3 separate regions of the Homo sapiens genome follow, and all the other regions are linked to region 3. The links are contacts of gene promoters, found by promoter capture Hi-C in human tissues and cell types (Jung and others, 2019). All regions are on one chromosome and are shown on one strand. The core of a region is centred on a gene start or on the middle of the fragment in contact, and the rest is flanking DNA. Distances in the headings are between cores, read along the strand shown.

Evidence for each region. The method cuts DNA at HindIII sites, captures the fragments that hold promoters and counts their contacts. A contact is called where the count stands out against the background at its distance.
Region 1: a contact is called between a fragment that was not itself captured here and the fragment with the promoter of SLC22A24 in region 3, in 4 of the 25 tissues and cell types used here (H1 embryonic stem cells, hippocampus, liver and 1 more).
Region 2: a fragment that was not itself captured here is called in contact with the fragment with the promoter of SLC22A24 in region 3 in 1 of the 25 tissues and cell types used here (mesendoderm cells).

What each region holds. Positions count from the first base shown.
Region 1 is chr11:63,426,242-63,430,643 of GRCh38, forward strand. No RefSeq gene overlaps it. Among named protein-coding and RNA genes, the nearest start is that of SLC22A9, 59 kb to the left of the region's middle. The HindIII fragment of the contact is 3,761 bases long and covers 582-4,342 here.
Region 2 is chr11:63,484,397-63,488,994 of GRCh38, forward strand. It overlaps PLAAT5 (phospholipase A and acyltransferase 5), which reads right to left. Exons shown (of 6, transcript NM_001146729.2): 3 at 4,475-4,580. It also overlaps the pseudogene LOC124902822. Among named protein-coding and RNA genes, the nearest start is that of PLAAT5, 4.5 kb to the right of the region's middle. The HindIII fragment of the contact is 8,832 bases long and covers 1-4,598 here.
Region 3 is chr11:63,142,865-63,147,597 of GRCh38, forward strand. It overlaps SLC22A24 (solute carrier family 22 member 24), which reads right to left and starts at 1,357. Exons shown (of 10, transcript NM_001136506.2): 1 at 514-1,357. The coding sequence starts at 915. The HindIII fragment of the contact is 8,571 bases long and covers 1-4,448 here.

The DNA.
Region 1 (4,402 bases), core at 1,212-3,711, 280 kb after region 3:
TCTTCTAGTTACTTTGCAATATACATAATAGTATTGCTACATATGGTCACCCTAGTCTGCTATCAAACATTAGGATGATTTCTTCAATCTAACTGCATGTTTGTATCCATAAACAACCTCTCTTCACCTCCCTTTCCCAGTTTCTGATATCTATCCTATTCTTGATGTCCATGAGATCAAGTTTTTACATCCCACATATGAGTGAGAACATGTGGTATTTATCTTTTTGTGCTTCCCTTACGTCACTTATCATAATAAAACCCATTTCCATCCATGTTGCTGGAAAAGGATTCCACTCTTTTTAATGGCTGAATAGTGTATGTGTATATATGTGTATGGGTATTTGTGCAGGTATGGGTACCTATGGGTGTGGGTGTAGGTGTGTATCCAGAAAACAAATAGTACATATAAACACATACATGTACATGCATGCATGTGCACACACACACTCACACACACACACCATTTTTCTTGTCCAATCAGCCATTGATGAACACTTAGGTTGATTCCATATCTGTTCTATTGGGAATAGCATTGTGATAAACCTGTGAGTCAAATGTATCCCTTTGAGAAAATAATTTCTTTTCTTTTGGATAGATACCCTGTAGTGAGATTGCTGCATCATGTAGTAGTTCTAGATTTAGTTTTTCTGAGAAATATCTATACTGCTTTCCATAATGGTTGCACTAATTTACATTCCCACCATGTCTAAGAGTACCCTTTTCTCTGCAACCTCACCAGCATCTGGGTGTGTGTGTGTCTGTGTGAGTGTGTGCATCTGTCAATAATAAACATTCTGTGGTGAGATAATATCTCATTGTGGTTTTTATTTACAATCCCTGATAATTAGTGTTGAGCATTTTTCATATACTATTGGTCTTTTGTAAGTCTTCTTTTGAAAAATATTGTTCATTTTTAGTGGGATTGTTTGGTTTTCTATAGTTGAATTGTTATTCTTGTATAGAATACATATTAGTCCCCTTTGGATGAGCACTTTGCAAATATTTTCTCCCATTCAAGTGATTTGCACTTCCCTTGTAATAGGTGATGTTGAGCAGATTTTCATATACCTATTAGCCATTTGTACATCTTTTTTTAGGTAAGATTTTATTTATTATGATGGGTGTGCTTGCCTGTTCCTAAGTTCATTCCAGTCTGGAACATAGGAAGATAATGCTACCTGCATAGCTGCTACACCATTCAGCCATTTCTTTCCTTTGTTTTTAACTGGGTTAAGATAGAAAACCCTAGTTCACACAAACTAGTTGTTGTGAATGGTAGTAATAGCAGGACACTCTTTCTATTTAACAATGGAAAGTCTTCCTTTACCTTATTCCAAAATGCTGATAAGCTTAAGGTCTCATAATCATTCTTTAATGTATATGAAGAACTAAACTGCAATAATTCATTCTCTTCTTCAGGCACCAAGTTTAGCTCAATTATTGATTCAGGGTTTTGAAAAGCAAATGGATATTTTACCCAACTGTTTTCCCTTAATGTTTCAAATTTTTCTTCTGGAAAGAAACGGTTAAAAGTTTGAGATAGGTCACTTCCAAGATGGCCTAATAGGAACAGCTCCAGTCTACAGCTCCCAGTGAGATCGATGCAGAAGATGGGTGATTTCTGCATTTCCAACTGAGGTACCTGGTTCATCTCATTGGGACTGGTTGGACAGTGGGTGCAGCCCATGGAGGGTGAGCCAAAGCAGGGCAGGGCATCACCTCACCCAGGAAGTGCAAGGGGTTGGGGGATTTCCCTTTCCTAGCCAAGGAAAGCTGGGAGTGACTGTACCTGGAGGAATGGTACACTCCTGCCCAAATACTGCACTTTTCCCAGGGTCATCACAACCAGCAGACCAGGAGATTCCCTCCCAAGCCTGACTAGACAGGTCCCACACCCATGGAGCCTTGCTCGCTGCTAATGCAGCAGTCTGAGATCAACCTGGGATGTTGGAGCTTGGCAGGGGGAGGGGCATCCACTACTACTGAGGCTTGAGTAGGCAGTTCTATGCCCACAGTCTAAACAAAGCAACAGGGAACTTCAAACTGGGCGGAGCCCACCACAGCTCAGCAAGGCCTACTGCCTCTCTAGATTCCACCTCTAGGGGCAGGGCATATCTGAACAAAAGGCAGGAGACAGCTTCTGCAGACTTAAACCTCCCTGCCTAACAGCTCTGAAAAGAGCAGTGGTTCTCACAGCACAGAGTTCAAGCTCTGATAATGGACAGACTGCCTCCTCAAGTGGGTCCATGACCCCATGATTCCTGATGGGGAGACACCTCACAGTAGGGGCCGACAGACACCTCATACAGGCAGGTGTCCCTCTGGGACAAAGCTTCCAGAGAAAGGATCAGGCAGCAATATTTGCTGTTCTGCAACCTCCACTGGAAATACCCAGGCAAACCTGGTAATACTCCAGGGTCTGGAGTGGACCTCCAGCAAACTCCAACAGACCTGCAGATGAGGGGCCTGACTGTTAGAAGGAAAACTAACAAACAGAAAGGAATAGCATCAACATCAACAAAAAGGACATCCACAACAAAACCCCATCCATAGGTCACCAACATCAAAGACCAAACGTAGACAAAAACCACAAAAATGGGGAGAAACCAGAGCAGAAAGGCTGAAAATTCCAAAACCAAAATACCTCTTCTCCTCCAAAGGAACACAACTCCTCAACAGCAAGGGAATAAAACTGGATGGAGAATGAGTTTGACAAATTGACAAAAGTAGTCATCAGAAGGTCGGTAATAACAAACTTCTCTGAGCTAAAGGAGCATGTTCTAACCCATTGCAAGGAAACTAAACTTTGAAAAAAGGTTAGACGAATGGCTAACTAGAATACCAGTAAGGAGAAGAGCTTAAATGGCCTGATGGAGCTGAGAACCACAGTATGAGACCTTCATGAAGCATACACAAGCTTCAATAGCCGATTAGATCAAGTGGAAGTAAGGATATCAGTGATTGAAGATCAAATTAATGAAATAAAGTGAGAAGACAAGACTAGAGAAACAAGGGTGAAAAGAAACAAATAAAGCCTCCAATAAACATGAGACTATATGAAGACCAAATCTATGTTTGATTGGTGTACCTGAAAGTGATGGGAGAATGGAACCAAGTTAGAAAACACTCTTCAGGACATTATCCAGGAGAACTTCCCCAACGTAGCAAGGCAGGCCAACATTCAACTTCAGGAAATAGAGAGAACACCACAAAGATACTCCTGGAGAAGAGCAACCCCAAGAAACATAATCATCATATTCACCAAGGTTGAAATGAAGGAAAAAATGTTAAGGGCAGCCAGAGAGAAAAGTCAGGTTACCCACAAAGGGAAGCCCATCAGACTAACAGCAGATCTCTCAGCAGAAACCCTACAAGCCAGAAGAGAGTGGGGGCTAATATTCAACATTATTAAAGAAAAAATTTTTAACCCAGAATTTCATATCCAGCCAACTAAGCTTCATAAGTGAAGGAGAAATAAAATCCTTTACAAACAAGCAAGTGCTGAGGGATTTTGTCACCATCAGGTGTGCCTTAAAGAGCTCCTGAAGGAAGCACTAAATATGGAAAGGAAAAAGTGGTACCAGCCACTGCAAAAACAAACCAAAATGTAAAGACCATCGACACTATGAAGAAACCGCATCAACTAATGGGGAAAATAACCTGCTAGCACCATAATGACAGGATCAAATTCACACATAACAATATTAGCATTAAAGGTAAGTGGGCTAAATGCCCCAATTAATAGGCACAGATGGGCAAACTGGATGAAGAGTCAAGACTCATCAGTGTGCTGTATTCAGGAGACCCATCTCAAGTGCAAAGACACACTTATGCTCAAAATAAAGGGATGGAGAAATATTTACCAAGCAAATGGAAAGAAAAAAAAACAGAGTTTACAATCCTAGTCTCTGATAAAACAGACTTTATAATACAGGAGCACGCAGATTCATAAAGCAAGTTCTTAGAGACCTACAAAGAGACTTAGACTCCCACACAATAATAGTGGGAGACTTTAATACCCCACTGTCAATATTAGACAGACCAATGAGACAGAAAATTAACAAGGATATTCAGCACTTGAACTCAGCTCTGAACCAGGTGGGCCTAATAAACATCTACAGAACTCTCCACCTCAAATAAACAGAATATACATTCTTCTCAGCACCACATAGCACTTATTCTAAAATCGACCACATAGTGGTTCCAAGATGGCCGAATAGGAACAGCTCCAGTCTACAGCTCCCAGCATGAGTGACGCAGAAGACAGGTGATTTCTGTATTTCCAACTGAGGTACCAGGTTCATCTCACTGGGGTGTGTCAGACAGTGGGTGCAGGACAGTGGGTGCAGCCCACCAAGCAAGAGCCAAGGCAGGGTGAGGCATCACCTCCCCTGGGAAGT
Region 2 (4,598 bases), core at 207-2,706, 340 kb after region 3:
AAATACTAGTTAACTGAATCAAACAGCATATCAAAAAGATAATCCACCATGATCAAGTGGGTTTTATAGCAGGGATGCAGGGATGGTTTAATATATGCAAGTCAATAAATGTGATATATCACATAAACAGAATTAAAAACAAAAATCACATGATTATCTCAATAGACACAGAAATAGCATTTGACAAGATCCAGCATCCCTTTATGATTAAAAACCTCAACAAAATCAGCATAAAAGGGACAAACCTCAAGGCAATAAAAGCCATCTACGACAAACCCACAGCCAACATTATAGTGATTGGGGAAAAGTTGAAAGCATTCCCCCAGATAACTGGAAAAAGACGAGGATGCCCACTTTCACCACATTTATTCGACATAGTGCTAGAAGTCCTAGCCAGAGCAATCAGACAAGAGAAAGAAATAAAGGGCATCCAAATCAGTAAAAAGGAAGTCAAACTGTTGCTGTTTGCTGATATGATCATAGACCTGGAAAACCCTAAAGCCTAATCCAAAAAGTCCTAGAACTGGTAAATCAATTTAGCAAAGTTTCAGGATACAAAATTATTGTACACAAATCAGTAGCCCTGCTGTACACCAACAATGACCAAGCTGAGAATCAAATCAAGAACTCAACCCCTTCTAAAACAGCTGTAAAAAAAAAAAAATACTTAGGAATATACCTAACCAAAGACATGAAAGATCTCTACAAGGAAAACAAAACACTGCTGAAAGAAATCACAGATGACACAAACAAATGGAAACACATCTCATGCTCATGGATGGGTAGAATCAATATTGTGAAAATGATCATACTGCCAAAAGCAATCTACAAATTTAGTGTAATTCCCATCAAAATACCTATTCACAGAACTAGAATGAAACAATCCTAAAATTAGTATGGAACCAAAAAAGAGCCCACATAGCCAAAGCAAGACTAAGCAAAAAGAACAAATCTTGAGGCATCACATTACCTGACTTTGAACTATACTGCAAGGCTATAGTTACCAAAACAGCATGGTACTGGTATAAAAACAGGCATGTAGACCAATGTAACAGAATAGGGAACCCAGAAATAAAACAAAATACAGCCAACTGTCTTCAACAAAGCAAACAAAAACATAAAGTAGAAAAGGACATCCTATTCAACAAAAAATGCTGGGATAATTGGCAAGCCACATGTAGAAGAATAAAGCTGGATCCTCAACTCTCACCTTCTACAAAAATCAACTCAAGATGCATCAAAGATTTAAATCTAAGATATGAAACCATAAAAATTCTAGAAGATAACATCAGAAAAACCCTTCTAGACATTGGCTTAGGAAAAGAGTTCATGATCAAGAACCCAAAAGCAAATGCAACATAAACAAAGATAAATAGATGGGACCTAATTAAACCAAAAAGCTTCTGCACAGCAAAAGAAACAATAAGCAGAGTAAACGGACAACCCACAGAGTGGGAGAGAATTTGTACAAACTATGCATTCAACAAAGGACTAATATCCAAAATCTGCAAGGAAATCAAGCAAATAAATCAGCAAGGAAAAAAACAATCCCATCAAAAAGTGGGCAAAGGACATGAACAGGCAATTCTCAAAAGAAGATATACAAATGGCCAACAAACATATTAAAAAACTGCTCAACGTCACTAATTATCAGAGAAATGCAAATCAAAACCACGATGCAATAATACCACCTTACTCCTCCAAAATGGCCATAACTTAAAAATAAAAAAAATAATATGTGTTGGCATAGATGTGGTGAAAAGGGAACACTTTTACACTGCTGGTGGGGATGTAAACTGATACAATCACTATGGAAAACACCATGGAGACTCCTTAAAGAACTAGAAGTAGCACAACAATTTGATCCAGCAATCCCACTACTGGGTATCTAACCAGAGGAAAAGAAGTCATTGTATGAAAAAGGCACTTGCACATGCATGTTTATAGCAGCACAATTCACAACTGCAAAAATATGGAACCAGCCTAAATGACCATCAACCAATGAGTGGACAAAGAAAATGTGGTATATATATATATGCACACACACACACATACACACACACCACGGAATACTACTCAGCCGTAAAAAGGAATGAAACAATGACATTCACAGCAACCTGGATAGAGCTGGAGACCATTATTCTAAGTGAAGTAACTCAGGAATGGAAAACAAAAAAATCATATGCTCTCACTTATAAGTGGGGGCTAGCTATGAGGGCACAAAGGCATAAGAATGATGTAATCAACTTTAGGGACTCAGAAGGGAAGGGTGGGAGTGGGGTGAGGGATAAAAGACTACACATTGAGTATAGTGTACACTGCTCAGGTGATGGATGCACTAAAATCTCAGAAATCACCACGAAGGAACTTTTGCATGCAACCAAACACCACCTGTTCCCCCAAAACTATTGAAATAAAAATACAGATAAAAATGTATCAAATATGTAAATGTAAAAAACAAAACTATAAAATACCTAGAAGAAAACAGGAGAAAATCTTTGTGACACTGGATTAGGCAAAGGTCTCTTAGATACACCACCAAAGGCACTATTCATAGAGATTTATATGAAATCATGTTGTATGTCCACTTCTTTGGCGGTCTCCTTCATATAACTATTTTGAGTGACATCCGTGTTGTTGCTTTTTATCAACAGTTCATTCCTTTTTATTACTGAGCAGTATTTCATTACATTTCCGTTTTATAAAAGGAAAAGCTGACACATTGGACTTCATCAAAATTTAAGAACCTGTTCTGAAGAGACAAGCCACAGATGGAGAGAAAATATTATAAAGTATATATCTGATGACGTACTTGTATACAGAACTTCTGAAGAACTCTCAAAACATACAAACCAATAGGAAAAAATGGGCAAAAGATTTGAACACTTCACCAAAGATTATATATATGGATGGCAAATATACGCATGAAAAGACGTTCAACATTATTAGTCATTAGGAAAATGCAAATGAAAACCACAATGAGATACCTACACATCTATTAAAATAGCTAAAATTTAGAAGATTTTGACCATGCCAAATGCTGATGAACTGGAACTCTTATAAACTGCTGGTAGGAATGTAAAATGATACAACCACTGTGGAAAACAGTAAGTTAAGGTTAGAGCTCTTTTAGAATTTGTCTGGCAGGCTTGGAAAGCCCCAAAAAAGAAAAAAAAAATGTTAAGGAAAACAGTAAATTAAATATACATCTACCACATGACCTAGCCATTTCATTCCTACATATTCACCCAAGAGGAAAAAATATACAGTCTGCACAAAGACTCGTACATAAATGTTCAAGCAGATTTGTGATAGTCAAAAACTAGTAACAACTCAAATGCTCAATCAACAGGTGAACACATAAACAAGAGTGGTATATCCATACAATGAAATACTGCTCAGTAATAAAAAGGAATGAACTGTTGATAAAAAGCAACAACATGGATGTCAGTCAAAATAGTTATATGGGCTGGCTGCAGTGGCTCATGCCTGTAATCCCAACACTTTGGGAAGCCGAGGCGGGAGGATCATGAGGTCGGGAGATCGAGACCATCCTGGCTAACACAGTGAAACCCCGTCTCTACCAAAAATACAAAAAATTAGCCGGGCATGGTGGCAGGTGCCTCTAGTCCCAGCTACTCGGGAGGCTGAGGCAGGAGAATGGCGTGAGCCCAAGAGGCAGAGCTTGCAGTGAGCCAAGATCACGCCACTGCACTCCAGCCTGGGCGACAGAGCGAGACTCCATCTCGAAAAAAATATATATAGTTATATGAAGGAGACAGACAAAGAAGTGCACATACAATATGATTTCATATAAATCTCTAAAAATGTGAACACATCTATGGTGACAAAAAGCATATCAGTTGTTGCCTGGGGATGGGAGTGGTATGGGAAGAGAGAGGGATTACAAAAGGCACAAAGAAACTTTTGTAAATGACAGAGATTATTCATTATCTTGATTGTGGTGAAGATTTGACAGGATATATATATAGATGTCAAAATGTATCAAACTATACACTTCACTGGCATATATATATGCCAAATTTATCAAATTGTATATTTTAGATATGTGGAGTTTACTATATGTCAATTACACCTCAATAAAACTGCTTTAAAACAAAGCATAACCAACATCCCAAATCAGGATATTTATTAGACCATCTAAACCAAGTTTGTCCAACCCGCAGCCCACAGGCCACATACAGCCCAGGACAGCTTTGAATGTGGCCCAACACAAATTTGTAAACTTTATTAAAACATTATGAGACTTTTTTGTGGGTTTTTTTTTTTTTTAAGCTCAACAGCTATCGTCAGTGTTAGTGTATTTTATGTGTGGCCCAAGACGTTTCTTCTTCCAGTGTGGCCCAGGGAAGCCTAAAGATTGGACACCCCTAGAAACAAAGTAAAATACAATATGTAGAGAAGTTGCCAGGAGGTTAAAGATAGTCACTTTGAGAATTCTTGTTACACCTACCTCAGCTGCTTGCTTTATTAACTTGCCTTCATTCTCAGGCTTTGGAATTGAACTCCAGTCTGCTTTCTGGCTGGGTGTGGTCTCCAAGCTAACTACAGCCTTCTCCCTAAATGATTTTGCAATC
Region 3 (4,733 bases), core at 107-2,606:
AATGCTCAGGGAGACTAATTTGAGTAGTAATAAAACTCTGGCCTCCCTCAAAAAACAAAAAGCAAAAAACAAAAACAACCAAAACTAAGTATCTCAACAACATTTTGTAGGAGAAACACTTTCACAACCAGCAGAATGCAGAAAAATTTGTCAAATCCCAAAGCGTGGATATTTATGTTACAGAATTAACAAACTTATTTCTCATTGCCAAAAATGTGTTGATTGTAATGGTTCCTATTTTGATTAATAAAGATGTGTTTGAGCCTAGTTATAATGATTTAAAATTCATGGTCTAATACCACAATTTACTTTTACACCAATATAATACTAATACACTTGGCTGTATCGTAGAGTATTAATAGATAATCAGGTGCTGCCACCTGCTAAAGGAATGAAGAATGAGCTGACTGCAGGTCCCATCTAAGGACTAAAGGTATAAAGCAAGTCAATTTTTTTGTGTTAACTCCAAACACTTTAATCATATAAACAGAAGATTTACATGGGGCCTCTTACCTCAGTCACGATGGTGGAGAGGAAAGAGCTTCTGTCGTACACCCAGCCATCCACACAGGGCTCCGTGTCTGGCTCATTTGTGTTGGGGAAGGTCCCGTTCAGGTGAAGGAGCTGCCACTGGGGATGGATAAAGCGCTGACACTTCTGTGGCCTCAGGTTTGAGTCCAGTGGGATGGAGATTCTCAGGAGGTCATCCTTGCTGAGGGTCCCGGTATCATTGTCAGACACAGTGTCATTGTCCAGGAGGGGGACCCAGCAGCGATGACTAGGGGTGAATGCAGTGAAGTTCTCCAACACAATATTAGGGAACAGTAGGATGTTGGTGATGCAAAAGAAAGCTATCAGACAAATCTGGAATCTCCCCATGCCACCCACTTGATCCAGGAGCACATCAAAGCCCATTGAGACTGAACAGGTGATCCCCAAGAGGAAGCACAATGACTTTATGAAGAGAAGTTCAGAGGGAGAAAATGTCCCCTTTCACAAAGTTACCATAGTGCCATGTGGATCCTGACACTGCTTTCTTCTTGGTGGGCCCTGCACTGAGTGGTGTGACACTACTGCAGAAGAGCAGTGGAAGGACTTTCCCCAAGTCCTTTAACTTTAGGCAGCCAAATAGTTTCAGAAGTCACAGATATAATTATTTGGCAAAGAGACTGCTAGCTGTTGACAACTGAATCTTCTTAAAAGACTACTCTGTGAAAGATCCTGATCTCTGAGTTTCCTGATAAGTCAACGGTGGATTTTCAGGTGGATGCAGTCCCCACGTGACCTAAAATACACCTGTTCAATAGTCTGCCATTCTTCTTAGAAATGGGATATTAGAAAATCCAAAGTGAATTGCTTTATGATGTTCTTGTACAAAGATCAGAGAGCAGGGCTTTTTTTGGACTAGGACTGAGTTTTACTAAAAGTTAATAAAAACTATTCTTAGTTAAAGGAAAGTGGAATGTTGAGTTTAAACATTGACTTTTGCTAAGTGTAGTTCTGCTTCAGTTCAAGTCATACCAATGACAGGGCTTTAAAGATTTTTTAAAATAGGGAAATTAGGATAAGAAACAAAGAGAAAGGAAATAGTGCTTTTATGTATTATAGTAGTATATTTCACCAGATTTATTGATTCATTCAAATATCATTTTGGGCTTTCTGGTGCTATTGCTGTAAATAAAGCAATGTTAACTTACATATATTTATTTATAAGTTTAAAATAAAATTTGAGCTCAATGTCTCATATAAATGATAGGTTTGTAAATAATTGTACTGTAATGTCATCATATAACTATAAGGAAGATACACAGTGTGCTATGGAAGATTAAGGAGAAACTGTTTAATGATACCTGGATAGATGCCATGGAGCAGGGGAGTCATCCCTCTACAAATTAACTTTACCTACTCTTTTTTTTTTTGAGACAAAGTATCACTCTGTCACCAGGCTGGAGTGCAGCGGTGGGATCTTGGCTCTCTGCAGCCTTGACCTCCTGGGTTCAATCAATTCTCATGTCTCAGCCTCCCAAGTAGCTGGGATTACAGGCATTCACCCACATGCCCAGCTAATTTTTGTATTTTTTATGGAGAAGGGGTTTCATCATATTGGCCAGGCTGGCCTCAAACTCCTGACCTCATGTGATCTGCCCACCTCAGCCTCTGAAAGTGCTGGGATTACAGGCATGAGCCACCATGCCCAGCCAGCTTGACCTACTCTTGTGGGAAGATTCTTGAGATAATGAAGCAGTGGATGAGGGACTGCAAGAGTCAATTTTTAAATGAGGGAATAATAAGTACACAATTACAGTTAAAGGTGTGGCATAATTGTGTACCTACAAGGATATTCAAAAGCTAGCAGCTAAATAGCATGCACGGATATAATGGGAAAAGACAGGTTGATTAAAAAGAAACCCAAAGAAACAAACAGAATCTCCAGAATTTATTCTGCCTACAAGAAGTTCTTATTTTTGAATTTCAAACTGGTCACCCGTGAAACATCTTAAGATGCAGATTCCTGGATGGGTGCAGTGGCTCACACCCATAATCCCAGCTACTCAGGAGGCTGAGGCAGGAGAGCCACTTGAACCTGGGAGTGAAGGTTGCAGTGAGCTGAGATTGTGCCACTGCACTCCAGCCTGGGTGACACAGCAAGACTCTGTCTCAAAAAAAAAAAAAAAAAAAAAAAAAAAAAAAAAAAAAAGCAGATTCCTGTCCAGCCTGCAGAGATTCTCTGTTCAGGAAATGACTTTCATGGATCTATTCCAAACAGGAAATCTAATACATCACAGGGTTTTGTTGTAAATTGTTAGAAATGTTTTAGTTCACTAGGGCTGCATAACAAAATACCACAGACTTAACAGAAGGTGACTTTACAGAAGTTTATTTTCTCACAGTTCTGAAGGCTGAAAGTCTAAGATCAAGGTGTCAACAGATTTGATTTCCTCTGAGCCTCTCTCTTTGGTTTGTCAATAGCTGCCTTCTCGTCATGTCCTCACATATTCTTTCATTTATGCATGTGCACACCTGGTGTTCCTTCCTCTTCTTATAAGGACACTAGTCATATTGGATCAGGGCCCCACCCTATGGGTCTCATTTTAACCTATCCCCAAATATGGTTGTATTTTGAGGTATTAGGGGTTGGGACTTTGACATAGGAATTTTGGGAGTGGGAGACACAATTCACCCCATAATGGGGTTAGACAATCACAATTATATTTTACTAAAGTTACTGACACAGTGTAAAAATAGTAAGAAGTGAACGTTCCAGCAAGGCAAACCATTCAGAACCACAAGAATAAAATGATGTAAAGAATGATTACAGCTGTGAATTCACTGAGTATTCGCTATAAGTCGATTCTGTTGTAAGCACTTTTAATGTTTTCCTTATTTTAGTTCTCACCCTTGTTATCTACATTTTACCCCTGAGAAAACAAAGGACTAGACACATTAAATAACTTGCCAAAGGATATACAGAGTGTAAGTGGTAGAGCCAAAATATGGACCATGGTAGTCTAAAGGAAAATCTCTTACTCACTTTAATAAATGACTTATTTTCTTTTTCTTTTCTTTTATTTTATTATTATTATACTTTAAGTTTTAGGGTACATGTGCACAACGTGCAGGTTAGTTACATATGTATACATGTGCCATGCTGGTGCGCTGCACCCATTAACTCATCAGTAAATGACTTATTTTCATCTCATAAATTAAATGATTGTTTTTATGCTCAGAAACAACGATGGCCTATCTAGAGTCAAGATGGCTGGAAGAGGAGAGGCTGAAACCATTGTGCCCCATCCCCCAAATCTCCCATGAAACACAGAAAATTTAAAGGAGAGGAAATTAGTAAGTATCATGGTGACCAAGTATAGACACAAAAAGGAATAAGAAGGAATGTTCCATAGGTCAAAATAGTGATGTATCTCTAGAGTAATGAGTAAGTAAAGAAGCATGCAGAGAAAAAAGCATTAGTAAGGACAATAATGATCACTAGCAATATATTGTCATTTCCTATGTGCCAGACACTGGGCTGGGTGATTTCTGTGCATGTTATTTATTCCTCACAACAACCCCGTGAGATGGGTATTACCCTCCTTGGTTTACAGGGAAAATGTAACATGGACAAGTGTTGTAATATGCCCTATTAAGTTGACTGGGATAGTAAGATGTGAACACTGTATAAAGCTTAAAAAGTCTGGCAGGGAGTCCAGTGTTGGGTACACAGTGGAAGATTAGACTGGTGGCAATTAGGAAACTATGGGTGATGATACAAACACCCACCTGTAAAATTCTCATTCCACCCTCATGGCACCCAGGCTTCTTCTGTTTCACAGATTCTACAATCATTTGGACAAAAGAAGCCCAGGTACTGTAATGTCAGCATGAGAAGTTTATGTCTTATTCAAATGGAAGAGAGGTGAAGTCTACTCACTCTTGCTGAGGTTGAATTCCTATTGTGCACCACCACAGCTATCTCTCTGTTTTATGTGCCTATAGGCTGTTATGTTCATCTATTTATCTCTCATTTCCTTCCAGCATTATTGATTGTTTTGCTGGCTTTATATAGTTTCTTTAGGACACTTACATTGACTTGCTACTGTGCTCAGTTCTTTCCTTTGATCTCACTGACACCTTTCAGTATTACATGGCAGCAAGACTAGTTTTAACATCCATGTTTTCTTAGTGGAAACAAACTGTATACTGAAGGACATGGGAAGCTTTGGTAAGGCAATACT